Regions from separate parts of the Homo sapiens genome. Here all the other regions are linked to region 1. The links are contacts of gene promoters, found by promoter capture Hi-C in blood cells and fetal thymus (Javierre and others, 2016). All regions are on one chromosome and are shown on one strand. The core of a region is centred on a gene start or on the middle of the fragment in contact, and the rest is flanking DNA. Distances in the headings are between cores, read along the strand shown. Region 1 holds the start of RLF (RLF zinc finger). Region 2 overlaps EXO5 (exonuclease 5). Region 3 overlaps SMAP2 (small ArfGAP2).

Region 1 (3,667 bases), core at 681-3,180:
AGTTTCCCCTCCTCCCATAGCATTCTGGGTCCTTACCAATCTCTACCTTTGGCACTGGGATGCTTTCCCCACCCCAGACCTTCACGTGACTCATTTTCATCCTTGCAGCCCATAGGGTCTTACTAACTAAAGTGGCCTCTCCCAGTTACTTCTTTCTAAGCACATACTACAATTTATAATTAACCTTTTTACTTATTTTTCTAGTTAATTGTCTTTCCCATCAGGATATCCCATGAAGGCTCTCTCCTCACCATTGTCTCTACAACACCTCCTTTTCCATCATTACCAAAACCGCACTGGAAATACTGTCATTCCTACCACCTCCCACCAACTGTAAGTTCATCAAGGCTAAGTGCTGTCTTACTCATGTTTCCCCAGCACTTGGTAAAGTCCCTGGCACTATCCTATGAAGTCAGTAAAAATCTGTAAAATAAATGAGCTTACTAAACAGGGATGACTACTACTAAGGAAGCAGAGAACAACAACACGTTAACATTTAATAGTACAGGGCAATGTTGCAGGTTGTACACACAAAAATTGGAGTGGTACAATCCACGGAAAAGATTAGTAAGGACAAAATTCCATTCAGAGAGATGAGGTGCTTCTGCCTCGGCAGAGAGAGGGAAGAAAAGCAATCAAGCAAGCTAACTTTTATTCTACTCCGGACCAACAGAGCAAATTGCCCCCCAAAATTATTATTTTAGAACGCCGCAATTTATTCAGCATACTGGACTACTTATTAGACTCCAAGTACCAACATGCCACGATTATTTTGCATTTTCTAAGGTACAACAGATAAGGAGCTGATGGGTGCCTCTGAAACCTGACAGAACAAACATTGGAAGCAGAAATAATAATGGCCAATATTTGTATTTGTAAAAGACTTGAAAACATACAGAAAAATCTCGGAGTGGTCATGGAGACTAAACTAAACACACCCATAAATATGTAATCATAGGTTAGGACCCACCAAGGCACAGAAATGATCATACGACTGCCAAAAGAGGCCACACTCTACATCCCTCTTCCCATCCTCTTCTACTCAAAGAGTCAGCCTTATTCTCGGTAGCACAATCCTCTCAAAGAAATACAGAAAAGACGAAAGAACGGCTTAAACGTAAAAAAAAAAAAAGCAAAAACCAAACAACCAACCGGCTCCGCAATCCCTAATCAGAAAGCTCTAGACGCCTTTCGAAGCCAACTGTCATACCTTTTAGGAGCCCAGAAGATGTTAACTCCAAAAATAAGTCTCTGGCCCCAACACACCTCTCTGGATTATTCAGAAAAACCCGGGTTTACCAGTTCGGAGATCTGCACTCCACTCAAAAAAGGATCTCCCGGCAGGGACAAGCAATCAATCCCTCAGGGGGCAGTGGCGCTCCAACCACCCGGCCAGGACACAGGCAACGGCGACAGGGCACAGCCCTTCCAGGGACCCGCCAGGGCCCTCCGGGATCTCAGTAAGGCTCAGAGCAAAACGACCCAGCGGTGGCCAAAGTCGGGCAGTGGCGCAGGGGGGCCAGCGGTCGAGCTTCCGAGCTGGGCCTTCCCGGCCCGGGGGCGCGGCGAGTCACGGAGGTGGCGCCTTTCAGTTTGGACCCGGCTGCTTACAGAGGATCCAGGGCCTCCTTCCCTGACTTCCCCGCCCCGCCGCCCTCAGCCAGCCAGTCAGCCCCTCACCTGGCAGAAGCTCCGGCAGTAGTTCAAAGATGAGACCTCCGACACCTCTTGCTCCCTCAGCTCTGTCTCCAGCTGCCACAGACACGGCCGCAGTCCCGAGGCTCCCGGCGCTGGAGATACGGGGCGATGACCCCGAACCATGGACTCAGTCTCGACTCCATCTCCGGCTCCCGCTACCGCCGGAGCCTCAGCCCCAGCCCCGGCGACAGCGGCGGCGTCTCCCTTTCCGTCCGCCATCTTCCCACGGCCCACCAGCGCGTAGGCAACCAAGCCACGTGACTCAGCCCTGGCCCTGCCCCCGGCCGCCCGCGCACTGTGACGCACTCCTTAGCGACGCGGGCGCCCGCCTGATTCCGTCACTCGGACTCCGGGTGCTCTCAGTGGCCTACGCATCGCCAGTCCTGACAACAGCCTAGCAACAACTGGCTAGAGGCTATGCCCACCTAGACCCCTTTGAGGTCATGGGATCACGGAGCCAGAAATGCCTGTAGAGCAATCTAGATTTGAGGGGGATGACATTTGAACTGCGATCTGAAGGGACAAGAGGAAGGTAGCCCTGAAAGGAACATAGCGAAAAGCATCCCTGGTAGAAGGAAAATAAGCAAAGATTGTGAGGCCGAAATGAAGAGTAACATCAAGGGAACTTGGTTTATGATACAGACGGCATTACAAGTCAGTGGGCGAAAGGACAGACTCTTCAATAAATGGCGATGAGACATTTTTTCCAAAAGGGAAATAAATGATTAGATTTCTACCTCAAACCATTTCCAAAAATAAGGCCGAGATGGATTAAAGACCTGCAAACATTTTTCAGAAAATAAAAATAGCTTTATAATGTCAAAAATAGGGAAGAATTTTTTTTTTTTTTTTTAGACGGAGTCTCACCCTTGTTGCCCAGGCTGGAGTGCAACAGTGCTATCTCAGCTCACCGCAACCTCCGCCTCCTTGGTTCAAACATTCTCCTGCCTCAGCTTCCGGAGCAGCTGGGATTACATGCATGCGCCACCATACCTGGCTAATTTTGTATTTTTAGTAGAGATGGGGTTTCTCCATGTTGGTCAGGCTGGTCTCGAACTCCTGACCTCAGGTGATCCGCCCGCCTCAGCCTCCCAAAGTGCTGGGATTAGAGGCGTGAGCCACCGCGCCCGGCTAAGAATTTCTTAATAAGACCGGAAAAGCACAAACCATAAGGGAAAATATTTAGATTTGACTGTATTAAAATGTGTTACTTCCGTATAACAAGTTGAAAAAGCACACAAAGACAAGCCACAGACTAAATGATATTCCCCATATATATAACCATTGTTTATTGTTGTTGTTTTTTGAGACAGGGTCTCACTCTGTCACCCAGCCTGGAGTGCAGTGGCACGATCTAGGCTCACTGCAACCTCTGCCTCTCAGGTTTAAGTGATTCTCGTGCTTCAGCCTCCCAAAGTAGCTGGCACTATAAGCGTCCGCCACCATGCCTGGCTAATGTTTGTATTTTTAGTAGAGGCGGGGTTTCACTGTGTTGGCCAGGCTGATCTCGAACTCCTGGCCTCAAGTGATCCGCCCGCCTTGGCCTTCCAAAGTGCTGGGATTACAGGCGTGAGCCACCGCGCCCAGCCATAACCATTGTTTTGATTAGTATCCAAAACAGTTCCCGGGCTGGGCGAGGTGGCTCACGCCTGTAATCCCAGCACTTTGGGAGGCCGAGGCGGGCAGATCACGAGGTCAGGAGATCAGGACTATCCTGGCTAACACGGTGAAACCCTGTCTCTACTAAAAATACAAAAAATTAGCCGGGCGTGGTGGCGGGCGCCTGTAGTCCCAGCTACTCGGGAGGCTGAGGCAGGAGAATGGCGTGAACCTGAGAGGCAGGGGTTGCAGTGAGCCGAGATCGCGCCACTGCATTCCAGCCTGGGTGACAGAGCAAGACTCCGTCTCAAAAAACAAACAAACAAACAAACAAATAGTTCCCAAAATCGAAAAAGGCAAACAACCCAAT
Region 2 (3,667 bases), core at 607-3,106, 350 kb before region 1:
AAGCTCTGCCTCCCGGGTTCATGCCATTCTCCTGCCTCAGCCTCCCGAGTAGCTGGGACTACAGGCGCCCGCCACCACGCCTGGCTAATTTTTTGTATTTTTAGTAGAGACGGGCTTTCACTGTGTTAGCCAGGATGGTCTCGATCTCCTGACCTCATGATCCACCCACTTTAGCCTCCCAAAGTGCTGGGATTACAGGCATGAGCCACTGCAGAATTTTTTAAGTGGAAAAATAGTTTTATTCCTGGATCTTCCACTAACATACTGTGTGTGACTTTAAGCAAATCACCTTTCTTGGCCTCAGTTTCTTCAGATTTAAAAAGAGCTTTGAGGCGGGGCGGGTGGCTCACACCTGTAATCGCAGCACTTTGGGAGGCTGAGGTGGGCAGATCACTTGAGGTCAGGAGTTCAAGACCAGCCTGGCTAACATGGTGAAACCCCATCTCTACTAAAAATACAAAAATTAGCCAGGTATGGTGGCACACACCTGTATTCCCAGCTACTCAGGAGGCTGAGGCAGCAGAATTGCTTGAACAGGGAGATGGAAGTTGCAGTGAGCCGAGACTGCACCACTGCACTCCAGCCTGGGTGACAGAGCAAGACTCTGTCTCAAGAAAAAGAAAAAAAAAAAAAAAGGAGATTTGAGGTTTGCCTTTTCTGCTTCAAAATTCTATTGACTTGAAAGAGTATTTCATTATTTTAAGTGAATATACATCTTTGTAAATGTAGGAACAATGTTTGAGAAGTTTACCATGGGCCACTTTCTACAATTTCCTTTATACAAAGTCCTTGACGAGCAAAATGAATCTCAACTACAAACTGTTCCTTGAGAAAAAGGAGCTCTGCAATAACTGTTTTTAAATGCAGTTCAAGGAACCTAGTATGGCAAAATTCAAAGATCAACTATATATAGATACAAATAAATATAGTCTAACACAAATTAATGCATGAAATAATAAGAGGATGTTACAGCGACACATGGAAATTAGTAGCTTGACTTCATAAATTATCCTCTTAATATTATAGAAATTGGTGTCTGTCACTAAACTGGAGTTTCCCATTAAGTTTATTTTCTCCCTCCACAAGAAACTAGCTTATAATGGGAAAAAAATCTGCCTATTACAGCATTATTAAAAACTCAAAATTTACTGCTATAATAGAGAATATTTATTGTGCGGTTATTTTTTGTGTGCCAGACACTGAGCCACGTGTTTTACATCCAATATCTCACTACCCTACTGTGGGATGGGGATGGGTACTGTACTCCTTTTTTCTTTCAACTTTTTACTATAAAGATTTTCAAGGCCGGGTACAGTGGCTAAAGCCTGTAATCTCGGCACTTTGGGAGGCCGAGGCAGGTGGATCACCTGGGGTCGGGAGTTTGAGACCAGCCTGGCCAGCATGGTGAAACTAAAAATACACCTCATGGTGAAACTAAAAATACAAAAAATTAGCCGGGTGTGGTGGCGGGCACCTGTAATCCTAGCTACTCGGGAGGCTGAGGCAGGAAAATCGCTTGAACCTAGGAAGTGGAGGTTGCAGTGAGCTGAGATAACACCACTGCACTCCAGCCTGGGTGACAGAGTGAAGACTCCATCTCAAAAGAAAAAGAAAATTTTCAAACATACAGAGAAGTAGAAAGAATAAAACAACAAACACCCATGTCCACACCATGTAGATGAACAACTGTTGACATTTTGCTGTATTTACTTCTTGTGTGTGTACTTTTTTGTTTTGGCTGAACTATTTTAAAGTAAATTACAGATAGCATAAAACTTTAAAATCTAAATGTTTCAGCATAATTTCCAAATGGCATTCTTCTTCATAACCACAATACTGTCTTCCAAATGACATTCTCCTCATAACTACATTATCACATCTGACAAAATTAGTAATTCCTTAACATTCCAGTTCATATATAAATTTCCCCAACTGTCCTCAAAATGTCCTAGATAGCTTTTCTTTAATCCAGGAAACAAAGACCACACATTATGTTTGATTGTTTTGTCTTTCAAGTATTTTTTAATCTTAAGAAACTGGGCGGCCAAGCGCAGTGGTTCACGCCTGTAATCCCAGCACTTTGGGAGGCCAAGGCGGGCGGATCATGAGGTCAGGAGATCGAGACCATCCTGACTAACACGGTGAAACCTGTCTCTACTAAAAGTACAAAAAATTAGCCGGGCTTGGTGGTGGGTGCCTGTAGTCCGAGCTACTTGGGAGGCTGAGGCAGGAGAATGGCGTGAACCCAGGAGGCGGAGCGTGCAGTGAGCTGAGATCCCACCACTGTGCTCCAGCCTGGGCAACAGAGCGAGACTCCGTCTCAAAAAAAAAAAAGAAAAAAGAAAAAAGAAACTAGGCAAATTATCTTATGAAGATACTCTTTTTAAGCCTTCCTTCTAACCCCACATATCTAACCTGCATAGAGAGTAAGCAAAACAAGATACAACCAGTCCATTAGTGTTTGACTTTGAGTGCCAGGAAAATAAATAATTTGACATAGAATTTTAGCTGATAGAGATAGCTATGAACCAAATGTCCCCTTCTTGCTATTCTAATAAGCAGTGAAATAAGGTGAATGCACCAACTCCTATGTCAAAGCGTAAGAAGTGATGCCCTGAAAACGTCATTAATATCAGTTGTGGTTGTGTTTAACTGATTTTTAAATAGTCTAAATGTCACTAATGAAAGAAAACATAGATAGCTAGAAGAAAAGTTATCTGCAATGAATAAAAATAATACAATAGTAAGACTTTTGCTTATAGAGTATCCTACAACATTATTGCTTTACAGGATATTTCAATAGTAACAAAATACAGAAGCTGTGCATTTACACAAGTGTTATAAACTGTCAATGTGCTTTAAATAATTTCAAGAAACTTTATTTCAACTATGAAGTCTCTGAAAATTGGAAAGAATATTTACCCTTCACCAAGAAACTAAAGTTAAAGGGCATTTATTTTTTCTTTTCTTTTATTTTATTTTTTGAGACAGAGTCTCACTCTTTCACCCAGGCTGGAGTGCAGTGGCGGGATCTCAGCTCACTGCAAGCTCTGCCTCCCGGGTTCACGCCATTCTCCTGCCTCAGCCTCCCGAGTAGCTGGGACTACAGGCACCCGCCACCGCGCCCAGCTAATTTTTGTATTTTTTAGTAGAGACGGGGTTTCATCGTGTTAGCCAGGATGGTCTCGATCTCCTGACCTCGTGATGCACCCGCCTCGGCCTCCCAAAGTGCTGTGATTACAGGCGTGAGCCACCGCACCCAGCCCTAAAGGGCATTTATAACACATATGCTATGAGGTATTTGTGAGGGTGAGGGGGAACTCCAAGTCCAAATCAATAACCTTAAAATATTTTATTTCAAATATCTAGACCTGGCTGTCCAATATGGTAGCCATTAGTAGCCACTAGCCATATGTGGCTACTTAAATTTAATTAAAATAAAATAAAATTCACATCTCAGTTGCACTAGCCATATATTAAGTGCTCAGTAGCTACATCTGGCTGGTGGATACAGATAAGGCACAGATACAGAACATTCCCTGATCACAGAAAGCTCTACTGAACAGCATAGAGTTAGACTATTTCCTGTGTACACATTAACTCCCCAAAGAGAGAGGAAGCTCCTGAAATGTATGGAGTTCCTACTTGTTTTACATACAACATTGAG
Region 3 (3,667 bases), core at 636-3,135, 260 kb before region 1:
TTCTAATGTACATGGCATTTCATTTTCAGATCTCTGTAGTCTCCTTTAAGCTAGACCAGTTTCCCTAACACTTCCTTCCATTTCTTCCTGACACTGACATTTTTAAGAACCCAGGACAGTTATTTTGTAGCATACCCCTCAATTTGGATTCATCTCATGTTTTCTCATAATTGGATCGAGGTTCAATATTTTTGGCAAGATTCTATGGAGGTGACACATGTCTTTCTTAGTACAAAATATCAGGAAGCATATGACATTACTTTGTTCCTCTGTCAGTAATTTTATGTTTGATCACTTGGCTGAGGTAGTGACTATATTTCTTTCATTATAATTAATAAATAATCTGAAGGGCATTTCTTTGCAAATGTGTCAATCCTTTGCTCTTTTTACAACTACTGTCATTCTTCTGTAAAGAAGGCTTTTCCTCCCTCCATTCCACACCTGGTTTTTAAAAAATATCACCGTGGACTCATGGTTTTGTTTTGTTTTTTCCATTCAGTGTGTCATAATCCATTACTGTTGTTACTCTTTTTGATGTTCAAATTGTCTCACATTTGGCCAGTCAGAGCCACTGGAAGTTGGCTCATGCGTCCCTCTGACATATTCCCATCAGACTTATAGCATTCCATTACTTATATAAATAAAAACGAAACAATGAAAATAAGTGAATTAAAATCTCCACTATGAAAGCTAGAAAATAACAAAGTAAACCCATAGAAAGCCTACGGAAATTGAGGTAGAAAACGGAAAAATGTAGCACCAATAAATCGAAATCCTGGTTCTTTGAAAAAAATTAATGAGACTGCTAGGCATAACTTTTGATAAATTTGAAAACCTTGGCGAAATGGAAAATCTAGGTAAATACAGTTTTCCAAAATTGACTTCCATAGAAGAAACAGAGAAAAGTATCAAAGATTTGCTACAAAAAAAGCAATAGTGCCCACAAACTTCACATGGGAATTCCACAAAACCTTCAAAGACCAGAGCTACATAAATTATTCTGGACCACAGAGAAACAAAAACATAAAAGTACTTCTTATAAATAAGTATAACCCTGATAAAGATAGCTATACATGCACATGTGCAGTACACATGCACCATACCACCTCTCTGGGGTTCCTTTGCCTGTCTCTTGGTTTTCACATTAAATCACTTTGTATTTCTTTGTACCTAGTGCAAAACTAGTGTTGCTTTGTTAGCCAATTTGAACATCATTTTCTTTTGATAGAAGAGTTGCCTACTGGTATGACTGGTATGTTTGGTCTCAACTCCATCATATTAGATTTTTACTGTGTTTATTGTATTTGCTGCACTTTGTAGTCTGTTTTTAAAAATTCTCAGCTGGGCGCAGTGGCTCATGCCTGTAATCCCAGCACTTTGGGAGGCCAAGGTGGGTGGATCACCTGAGGTCAGGAGTTTGAGACTAGCCTGGCCAACATGGTGAAACCCCGTCTCTACTAAAAAATACAAAAAAAATTAACCGGGTGTGGTGGCGGGTGCCTGTAATCCCAGCTACTCGGGAGGCTGACGCAGAAGAATCACTTGAACCCAGGAGGCGGAGGTTGCAGTGAGCCGAGATTGTGCCACTGCATTCCAGCCTGGGTGACAGAGTGAGACTTTGTCTCAAAAAAAAAAAAAAAAAAGAAAGGAAGAAAATTATCTTGGTATTCAGAACATTTCACGTGTTTGTTCTAGTGATTACCTTCATAGTAATACTTTTTAGCAATGTCCTTGGTCTCCTTTTTCCTTATTCAAGCTTCCGTGATTTGGTTTGTCAGCTTATTGCATCCTTCGATTTCTACTTCTTTCCCATACAATATTTATTATTCAACTTTTCTCCCTCCTCCTTCATTTTCAGTTGTATTTGTTTGTCAGAATATAATGTATATTCTGCAACGCTTGTCACCACCTTTGTTTTAGTCTTAGATTCTCAATTAAACATTCAATTCTCACCATCAGTTCTTTTGCCAAAAATGAAAATGACCCCAGTCATCTCTTAGGTGGATGAAGCTTATCTTCTGTTAGATTCCCCAGGAAAGTCTTGTAAGTGTGATATTCTCTGAGTTCTTGCATATTTATTTTTTACAGCCTTGATACCTGAAGGATAGCTTGGCTGGCTTGGTTGTAAAATACTTGTTGTGTCTTGCATACACTTGAGTGTCTTTAAAATACTACTCTCCTTGTTATTCTTTTTGTATTTTGCTGCTAGGAAGTCTGATGTCAACCTGGGTATTTTTTGTTTGTTCTAAGTAACAGATTTTTGTGGGTAGGAGGTATGGAAAAGGTTGGACCCCTAAACATTTTGAATGTTCTTTAAAGTCTGTAGATTTGCTGGGATATGTTTTAAAGTTGACTGTTCTGGGTCAATTTTCCCAGACACACAGTGGGCTCTTTCCATATTATATCCAAGTCTTTTATTTCTAGAATGTTTTCTGGTGTTAAACACATTAATACTGTCCCATATTTTATTTATTTTGTCTTTATTTCTTTGGGCATCTCCAAATATATGTAAGTTTTCTTTGCCTAACTTCCATATTAATTTCCATCTAATTCTTTTTACTACTTTCTATATTTAGTTTTCATTCTCTTAGCTGTTTCATGCCTTTCCTCAATGCCGAATATATTTTCAGCTCAATCTATTGTTCTTTAGCTAACTTGTAATTGAGTCTTTATACGAAAATTTTGGCTTTTTCTTCAATTTCTTTTCTGAGTTTAGTAAACTTTCATTTCACAGCATGCAGTTTTTTATCCATTTTGGCTTTAAGTTTTTGAATTTCTGATTTAAGGTGTTTTGTCTTATCTGCAAATGTTTAAGGACATTTAATTCAGATTGGTAGATTGTGTAACAATTTTCTTCTGCTTCATGACTGTTTTTTGAGGGAGAATATTCATTACGTGAAATGTTTTGATTTTCATTTTCTATTTTCTTCCTGTAGTAGTTGTGTACAAATGTCAGCTTCCATGTTTGGTTCATTTTTGTAAGGTCTTATTTTTTCTCAATCAGCAATAATAGGTGTGAAGGTTTGGGGAGGCTTACTAAATTTCTTAGATTAAGAGCACCATCTTTTATTAGTGAAGTGGTTATTTTGGAAGAGGGAAGAAGGTGTATATTTGATTTTGTGATTCTCATTCCCATTTCTCGTGTCTTTCTTTCCTTCACCACCAGTCCTCTAAAGGGTACCTCCTCCTTTTAGGCCATGCCCATCTCCCCGAGAAGCAATGCTTTCCCAAGGTTACTACCTATACTCCTATATATCTGAAGTCTCTTATTTTTGATCCTCCAAGTAAACAGAGTTCTAATCTACCACATCTCAGACCTGTTCTCAGTATGTCTTTGATGAGGGTAGGTCCTTCTCCTTCTGGGGGGTTACTTTATCTGTGGTATTATTGCTAGGCCCCTGCTCCATCTTCTCTTTTTACAGTCTCCTCTGTGATGCTGGCTCCGCTGGATTTGGTGTTTATATGCCCATTGCCATGCCATTTGAACCTTGCAGTATTCTGTCTACCAAATGAGATTGTTGTGAGAATATCTGCATTCATTGTTTGTACAGGGTTTCTTTGTGTGTTTGTTTTTGCTTTTGAGAATGTGTGGAGAGATTCAGATTTAGGCAGTTGGGCTTATTCTACAGGAGCCCAGAACTCCTCAGAAAGTCTGACTTTAGACAGA

What was found. Contacts are between HindIII fragments. The CHiCAGO score rates a contact against its expected background, and 5 or more counts as called.
Region 2: a contact is called between a fragment that was not itself captured here and the fragment with the promoter of RLF in region 1, in 2 of 17 cell types (total CD8 T cells and naive CD8 T cells). The highest score is 5.5, in total CD8 T cells.
Region 3: a fragment that was not itself captured here is called in contact with the fragment with the promoter of RLF in region 1 in 17 of 17 cell types (total B cells, naive CD4 T cells, total CD8 T cells and 14 more); the score reaches 17.0 in total B cells.

The regions. Positions count from the first base shown.
Region 1 is chr1:40,159,650-40,163,316 of GRCh38, reverse strand. It overlaps RLF (RLF zinc finger), which reads right to left and starts at 1,930. Exons shown (of 8, transcript NM_012421.4): 1 at 1,681-1,930. The coding sequence starts at 1,917. It overlaps LOC105378671 (a long non-coding RNA gene), which reads left to right and starts at 2,039. Exons shown (of 3, transcript XR_947232.3): 1 at 2,039-2,352. RefSeq lists enhancers at 1,026-1,641, 1,645-2,154, 1,642-2,258 and a silencer at 3,267-3,468. The HindIII fragment of the contact is 5,693 bases long and covers 1-3,667 here.
Region 2 is chr1:40,510,552-40,514,218 of GRCh38, reverse strand. All of the region lies in intron 3 of EXO5 (exonuclease 5), which reads right to left. Among named protein-coding and RNA genes, the nearest start is that of EXO5, 3.6 kb to the right of the region's middle. The HindIII fragment of the contact is 4,712 bases long and covers 1-3,667 here.
Region 3 is chr1:40,417,257-40,420,923 of GRCh38, reverse strand. All of the region lies in intron 9 of SMAP2 (small ArfGAP2), which reads right to left. Among named protein-coding and RNA genes, the nearest start is that of ZFP69B-DT, 31 kb to the left of the region's middle. The HindIII fragment of the contact is 254 bases long and covers 1,759-2,012 here.